Regions from separate parts of the Homo sapiens genome. Here all the other regions are linked to region 3. Evidence: promoter capture Hi-C in human tissues and cell types (Jung and others, 2019). All regions are on one chromosome and are shown on one strand. The core of a region is centred on a gene start or on the middle of the fragment in contact, and the rest is flanking DNA. Distances in the headings are between cores, read along the strand shown. Region 1 overlaps KRT75 (keratin 75). Region 2 overlaps KRT72 (keratin 72). Region 3 holds the start of KRT6A (keratin 6A).

Region 1 (2,700 bases), core at 109-2,608, 66 kb before region 3:
TCGGCAGAGTTGAGCCAAGCAGTGGAGCTTCTTCTCAAACTGTTTAGGAGAGAAGCTGCCTAGTTGGCAATGCTCTTGTCCACAGCATGAAGGCTCCCTTCAAAGGTCCAAGCCAGACCAGGAATTTTCATAAATCCCGTCTACATCAAGTGCTCACCTCTGTGCTAGGCTTGCAGCCCCAACAAAAAGGCAGGGAATTCTGGGAGGTAGGAGATGTGGCCAGGATCTTTTAAACCCACTCAGAACAATGACATCAAACCTCTCATCACCCCTTCTGTGACACCCTCACTCTCAAAGAGGAAAGAACTGTGACATTAAAGACTCCTAATATGGCTTGCTTTTTAAGGGACCCAAAACCTCAAACCTTCTCCAAATGAACGCTGTCTGTGAGATCCCGTCTAACCCGTCATATCTTCACCCTCTGGCAAGCCCACCACATCCCCATCCCCTCTACCACACACACTCCAAATGGCCCAAGAAGTATGTCATACTCACAAATGTTAACTGGAGAAACTCCCTCTCCACTCAACCTGATTGGGAAGAGCAGGGAGAAGGAAGGTTACCAATGTGGCCAGCAGCTTAAGGGCCTTTGCAATGACACTTTTGTAATTGTTGACAAAGCATTTAAACATACTTTATTATTTTTATTGCAGAAGTAATGCAGGTTGAAATTATTTGAGAACTAGTAGTATTAAAGATAATATTAATAATCTAATGAATAAAATAAGGTGGAGTTTGAGGTTCACAGGAGCAAAATCTATAATCTCAGAAATACAATTTTTGGTTTAAACTAGTTAGATGCCTTAAGGAAATTAAAAGTAATCATATACTGGCATCAACTGGAAAGAAGGGCCTGTCCTATAATAAGATTTGTCTCTCAACAAGGGACCATTGTCATGCACTGAGCCAGGGCTGAGCTTATTGTATATAGGTGTGGAGAGGCGTCTGAGTCATAAAAATAACAATAGTAATATCAGTTTATTATTATCTTAGCAACCAAGTAACTTTGCTTTAGCATCTTCAGGACAGAACTGGCATTCATTCATAAACACATACTGAGAAACTTAACAAGAGGTAACAGCTGTTGATTACCTGTTACTTATATCACACCACTTAGTTCTCTCAACAACCCCATGAGGTAGGTATTATTTGCTCACTTTTATAGAGGGAGAAATGGAAGCTCAGACAAGTTAACTAACTTGCCCATAGTCGCAAAGCTGGACTTGAAGACAGATTCATCTGACACCAAAGCCTATGTCTTTGGCCATGAAACTGAATGATAGCTAACATTTATCGAACACGCTGTGTACCATGCATTGTTCTAAGAGCTTTGTGTGTATTCCCTTATTTTAACCCTTTTAATAATGTGAGAGTTTAGAACTATTGTTATTCACATTTTATTGGATGAGAACACTGAGAGGTGGAGAGGTTAAGTATCTGCTCTTGGCTACACAGCTCCTAACTGGCAGAGCACAAAGCTCCCATGAAGCTTTGCGGATCATGTAATCTGACCTTTTCATTTTATCATTGAAGAAATTGAGGGCCAGAGAAGGGAGACTGACTTTCCCAAGGTTATGTAGCTACTTAGTGTTAGATCTGTAAGCCCAAATCCTAGGACTGTTTGTTCTCAGCCCATGGCCTTTTAGACCACATTTCGAGAGCTGCCATGTAACCAAATGTCTCCTTTGGTAGAATTCAGTTACTTAGACCTGATCAGGTTTTAGGTTTCTATGGGGATGCTAACTGTAGTTGCACCTCAAATGATTTACTAGCCTGGAAGGAAATTAAAATTATTTTTTTGCCATAGCCCAATTCTGAACTGCATTTTCTTCCAGGAGAAGAAGGGGCTGCAACAGCCCGAGCCCCTAGGAATGCCCAGGAAGCTGAGGTGAGCTCAACTTGCTTTGAGGATGAAGTTGGTGCATCTGCCTCACCTGCACTCCTCGCCTTCCAGCAGCTTGCGGTAGGTGGCGATCTCCACGTCCAGGGCCAGCTTGATGTTCATCAGCTCCTGGTACTCACGCAGGAGCCGAGCCATGTCCTGCTTGGCCTTCTGCAGGGCCTCCTCAAGGTCCACCAGCTTGGCCCGTGCATCCTTGAGAGCCAGTTCTCCCCGCTGCTCTGCATCAGCAATGGCCGTTTGCAAGCTGGAACACTGTAAGGACAGGAGGAAGCCATGAGTCCTGCTGACAGCCCATGGAGGTGTGGTGCTTCTTGGGGAGGAGTTCTTAAAGATGGCAGAAAGGCCCAGAAGAAATGAGCATTTGAGGAGCTCTTGGCCCTGCCAAATCTTTACCTGCTTCTTGACGCTGTCAATCTCAGCTCTCAGCCTCTGGATCATGCGGTTCATTTCAGAGATCTCTTGTTTGGTGTTTCGAAGGTCATCCCCATGTCTGCCTGCGGTGACCTGCAGCTCCTCGTACTGAGAGAACCAGAGCAAACCCAGTCACTGAGTCAAATGCCTGGCCCAGGCACTCGCTGTGCACACAGACCCACCCTGGGTGCCACAAGCAGGCTCATTCATTCCTGGTCATTCACTCATTCCCCCTGAAGCTTACAGTTTATTGGGGGACATAGACATTAACTGAATTAGCATATTATCAAATGTATAGTTCCACACTAAGATAAGTGCCCTTAGGAAATGAACAGGGTCCTGGGAGAGTGTAATGAAGGAATCTGACCTAGATTTGGAAGTGGGAA
Region 2 (2,700 bases), core at 38-2,537, 99 kb after region 3:
TGAAGATAAGACAATATATGTGAATTACCCATAGAAACTGTGTCAGAATCCTATCAGGGTTGTAGCTGGTGTGGCCTCAGCCAAGGGCCGTGATAGGAGAAGGGCTAAGCCCCATATATGTCCGCAAAACAAGCCAAGACTGTAGTTAATCTCCCTTACCCCTGGGGTGGCATTTCCGCAAGGCCCAACTTCAAGACAAAGGAGGTCTTGACTGAGCCCAAATACACACACACACACAAACACACGCACACACACGTACACATGCACACATACTGAGAGGGTGCTAGCTGTGGCCAGTGGGACTCAGCACACCTGGCACCAGCTCACCTTGGTCTGGTACAGGGTCTCAGCCTCGGCCTTGCTCTTTAGGGCAATCTCCTCGTACTGGGCACGGACCTCGGCAATGATGCTGTCCAGGTCCAGATCCCGGTTGTTGTCCATTGACAGGACGATGGACGTGTCGCTGATGTGGGACTGGATCTGAGTGATCTCCTGGGGACGGTTGGGGGAGGGGAGCTAGTTAAGGGGTACTCATGAGGAACCAGTTCTCTTGGTCCTCCCTGGGCAAATTCCTCACTGTCCCTCTGCCTTTCCTCAGCGTTTGAACTCTGCCTCAGCACCAGTGCCTGGCAGGCACGTGAAGAAGTGCCTTAGGCTTTCAGCCCCAAACGCTGAGACTCCTCTCTCCATTGCACACTCAGGAGCACTCCTGCACCCTTCTACATTCTCATCCTCAGAAACCAGCCACCGCCACCCTCCACCCATAGGACCAAGTCTGAACTCTTTACCTAGCATGTGAAGTCCCCTAGGGAGTCACTAGCACCAGTCCCTTCCCCAGGCCTCTGCGCCCTTCTTCATTCCTCATGCTTTAGCACAGGACAGGCTCCTGGACCTTCTATTTTTCTGCCCCCCTCAGCACCCACTGAAATCGTCCTCTTTCTCCTCTCTCTCCAAGAACCTTCACTGATGGCCCAGGCAGAACCCACCATTCCTTCCTCTGCTCTCTGAAAGCTCAGCTACGTGGTGTTTTCCTGCCAAGCTGTGAACTCCTGGAGGGCAAGAATCACTTCTTCTCTTTCACGGACTCCTCAAAACCTAGCTCATTGTTCAGCACCCAGTAGGGCCTTGGTGAATGTCAGGGGCACCAGGTTGAAAGCTTTCTCCCTCCCAATTCTTGGTCCACACCACCTTCCAGCCAGGGGCCAGAAACCTCTTGTTAAAGGAGCAGATCTCACAAGAGAGGTCAGCCAAGTCCTTACCCCTTCATAAAGGCACTTGAAGAATTTAATCTCATCTGTCAAGGAGTCCACCTTGGCCTGGAGCTCAACCTTATTCATGTAAGCAGCATCCACGTCCTGGGAGCACATGATAGTCAAGCCGCCCTGAGAGGGCCTCCCCTGCCCATCCCTCCCTCCCTGCCACAGGAAGCCTTGCTCTTTCCTCTCCCTTCACCCTGTGCTTCATGGGGGGCTCCCTGAGAGTCCCCTTCAGTCCCTGAGAGTAAACCAACTAACGTGCAGTGCAATGGCTACACCAGTAGTGCAGTAAAATGCCCAGATTTTAGACTGGCAAATTCTAGAAACAGCATGCATCCCAGGCAAGGGACTTGGAGGGAGGGGCTGGGAAGTTAGAGTGCCAGTCACCCCTGCCCAAGGGACTGAGTGACCTACAGGGCCCCTTTCCTCACCCTACAAGCATCATTGTGCCAGGTGGTCAGGTCTAGGCTTCTTCCAGCCCACCTGGCACCCCTCTTACCTTCTTGAGCACCACAAACTCATTCTCAGCAGCTGTGCGTCTGTTAATCTCCACCTCATACCTGCATGGGGCAAGACAATGAGGTAATTCAGTTCTGCAAACACTCACTGAACAGTTAGTGACCACCTCTGTGCTGAGAGCTGCAGGGTGGGGGTCTTCAAACTGGGATTCCCATACCCCTGGGGCACACATAACCTTGCTTAAGAGGATGCAGGCAAGGACATAGTTAAAGGAATCAATTTCCAGCTCCTTTGTGCCTGTGCATTCTGTCTTAAAACTACCTGCCTCAGAGAGCACCTGTGGTTGAGATGTCATGCAGACTCTACTGTCCCTCTCCCTGTCACAATTAGCCCCTCCCACATTATAGCAGAGGTGAAAAGACACTCCCTTCTGGCACATGGCATCTTAATACTGTGCAATGGCTCAGGGTGCAAAAACCTCCTAGGCACCAAACAAAAGCACCATTCTCACTTTCAAACTGTATGTTATACCTATTTCTTATACATATTTCTGTTCCAGGTGAAGCAGAAACAGAAGCAAGGTCTAAGACACAGAAATGTGGTTAGGACTGGGATGTTCTTAATACAGACATATTGTTGATTGGGGAGGTAAGAGTACTAACCATTTTATTTAAAGAGCTTACCTCTTCCATCCCTTATTATTCTCAAAGAATGCATTACAGGACATTTGTGAGAGTATGGTAACGAAATAGAGCATTGGTAAGAAATAATTAATGCTAAATGGATAAGCAAAATGTGGTGTATACATACAATGGGATATCATTCAGACTTAGAAAGAAAAAAAATTCTACAATATGCTACGACATGGATGAACCTTGAGGACCTTTTGCTAAGTGAAAGAAGCCAATCACAAAAAAGACAAATATTCCAAAAGACAAATGATCTCATTCATGTGAGATACTTAGAGTAGTCTAAGTCAGAGACA
Region 3 (2,700 bases), core at 40-2,539:
TGGACATATTAATGAGTTTCAACATGTCTTTTCCTTCTTTTCCCAGCCAAAATTACAAACATAGTTATAAAATAGTATTCATCTGATAAATTTTACACAGTTTTTATTACTGATAGGACCTCAGTTAGAAGAGATGTTAAATGTTGCCCAATGATTTGATTCCCGTCTTATTTCCCATTTGTGCAAGTCTCTCCTCTAAAACATCCTGATGTTATGGTCATTCTTTGTTTTGAGGATTAATTAACATTTCCACATAACGTATAAACGTTTTAAGTCTTTTTTTTCTTAATCTAGCCAAAATATCCTTTCTTTTGTTTCCAATATTTTTTCCTCTTATCCAGACCCCAGAGTGTAATTTACCAGCCCGTGTACTCCTGGCATTTTCTTTGACGCTTCAAAGGGAAGAGTTAACCTACTCCATTCTCTGATGGCCTCATCTGTGCTTCAGGGTTATGAAAAGTTATGGTTCTCCCTAGGCAGGAGTGAGGGCCACTCCAGAGATCCCATGGGGGAGTGATGCCCATCCCTGCTGCTTGCTGGGCACCAGCAGCCATCTGCACTCTCTGCAGAGCTGGGCTGAGTCCTCTTCTCCCTCCCTCCTAGGTCTCCCTGGCAGGAAGGTGTTGCTCCTCTGGTCTGGGGACCCTGAAGTGCCCCATGGAGGGCATGGCACTGGCTCACCTTGTCGATGAAGGAGGCAAACTTGTTGTTGAGGGTCTTGATCTGTTCACGCTCCTCAGCCCGCACCCGCTGGATGGTGGGATCGATTTGCAGGTTGAGGGGAGTCAGGAGACTCTGGTTGACGGTGACCTCTTGGATGCCTCCAGGGGGGCACACAGGGAAGCCAGGGCCCCCAAAGCCACCAGCAAGGCCGGCTCCACCACCCAGACCAAAGCCAATGCCGGCTCCACCACCGAAACCAAATCCACTCCCGGCGCCACCAAAGCCATAGCTGCCTCCGGCTCTGCTGCCATAGCCGCCACTGATGGCACAGCTGCCCCCTCCAATGGAGATCCTCTTGGAGCCCCCCAGGCCATACAGACTGCGGCTGCCAAAGCCAGCTCCTCCACATGCACCACCCAGGCCACCACTGCCCCTGGAGCGGGACACGGAGACGCTGCTGAAGCCAGAGCGGCTGACCCCAGGGAGCCTGGCTGAGTTGGCACTGAAACCCCGGCGGCTGCTGCTGTGGCTCCTGATGGTGGTGGATGTGCTGGCCATGGTTCCAGGAGATGAGAGAGCTGAGGAGAGTGTGAGAGGCTGGAGGAGAGAGGGAAGAGAAGCAGGACTAGGAATCAGGCTCGGGGCAGCAGCTTATATATGGAGAGCATGGGCTGGGCCCAGTCCTGGAAGGTGAGCTTGCAGGTTGGGAAGGGCTGGGCTTTACCAACAGTGAGATCACACCCAGTTTCTAGAAAGGTATGAAATATGAAGATTGCTTTTTGGCTTCCTTTAGTCATAGAGAAATTCTCCTGCCTTCCAGCCTTGACTTGATCCTAACACAATAAGCCCGGGTATACATTCACTGAAGTCATGAGTTAGTCATGTCCTCAAACAAAGGAGACAAGGAGCTGATCTGTGATAATTGTCCCCTCCTTCTTCTTCATCAGACACTCCCTGTGTGCCCCCTTCCCACACAGGTTTTCTACTCCACTTGCACCAGCCTCACCCTCTGAGTGGGATCCTTCCTGAGGGCGTATGGGCATTTGCCCGATGGCCTGAGCAAGAAGTAGCCTGTTGTGTTTTTTCCACTGCATTTGGACCAGTTCTTCTGGAGCTCCTGGCTGTCCTCCCTTGTGTCCTGGACATAGGAACGGGGTCTGCTTTGGGGATCTAACCCTCCTTTGTCAGGCAAGAGGGACAGAGGAGTTGAGTCTTTACACTGTAGGAGCAACATTTGTTCTGTGTACTGTGTGATCACCTGCCCACATGCCGTTTACCTAAAATGAAGGGAGCAGACATTGCCCAGGGTGCTCAGAGACCTGACTTCTGCCAGGAGTTTCTTTCCATATCTGCACCTCTCTCTCCAGTGCTTGCTTTCCTATTGAGCTTAGTCTCATGTAAATCTGCCTTTCCAGTTGAAATTTATAGACACCTTCTCCCTGCTGTTTTGGAGCATTTACATAGAGCTTAATTTAAACAACGGAAAATGAGTGATATAAAAATCATTAAGGAATTCACTGGATTTTTATTCCCACAGATTTTGACATTTCTTAAGAATCAAGAGTCAGACAGTTTAATTGGGTGTGTAGGGAAAGTCAAGGGGCATATGGAAGCTGTGAATCATAAAATTGTGCCCTTACAAGTGTGATGATGTAACATGTCAATTCCACATTTTAATTTCTGATCTCAGTGCTTGAAATCTCAAATCCATATACACCTTCTGGGAGGGTGGGCAGGCTGACAAAGGTGAGTGTGCTTGGTTTACAGAGGAATGAGCTTCACTTCTCCAGTCCATGCATTAAGCACTGTGCATGAGGAGAATGGAGAGCAATCCTGGGCAATATTGTTCTGTGAGAACCTATGGATAAATGAGCAACCGCAGGAGGAAGAACAAACTCCCATGCTAAGAAGAGCCTCAGGAAAGCTCTTGTTACTATTTTAAAAGCAGTCCCATTTCTCCAACATTTGGAGGGGGGGACACAGCATCCAGGAGAACAGGGTGTTCCCTGTCTAAAGGAGGTGCTAACTCAGCGTCTG

Evidence for each region. The method cuts DNA at HindIII sites, captures the fragments that hold promoters and counts their contacts. A contact is called where the count stands out against the background at its distance.
Region 1: a fragment that was not itself captured here is called in contact with the fragment with the promoter of KRT6A in region 3 in 2 of the 25 tissues and cell types used here (liver and pancreas).
Region 2: a contact is called between a fragment that was not itself captured here and the fragment with the promoter of KRT6A in region 3, in 2 of the 25 tissues and cell types used here (bladder and heart right ventricle).

Annotation. Positions count from the first base shown.
Region 1 is chr12:52,426,322-52,429,021 of GRCh38, forward strand. It overlaps KRT75 (keratin 75), which reads right to left. Exons shown (of 9, transcript NM_004693.3): 6 at 2,297-2,422; 7 at 1,935-2,155; 8 at 496-530. Among named protein-coding and RNA genes, the nearest start is that of KRT75, 6.7 kb to the right of the region's middle. The HindIII fragment of the contact is 7,225 bases long and covers 1-2,700 here.
Region 2 is chr12:52,591,137-52,593,836 of GRCh38, forward strand. It overlaps KRT72 (keratin 72), which reads right to left. Exons shown (of 9, transcript NM_080747.3): 3 at 1,756-1,816; 4 at 1,260-1,355; 5 at 328-492. Among named protein-coding and RNA genes, the nearest start is that of KRT72, 9.0 kb to the right of the region's middle. The HindIII fragment of the contact is 4,708 bases long and covers 1-2,700 here.
Region 3 is chr12:52,491,968-52,494,667 of GRCh38, forward strand. KRT6A (keratin 6A) reads right to left here and starts at 1,290. Exons shown (of 9, transcript NM_005554.4): 1 at 682-1,290. The coding sequence starts at 1,221. The HindIII fragment of the contact is 9,834 bases long and covers 1-2,700 here.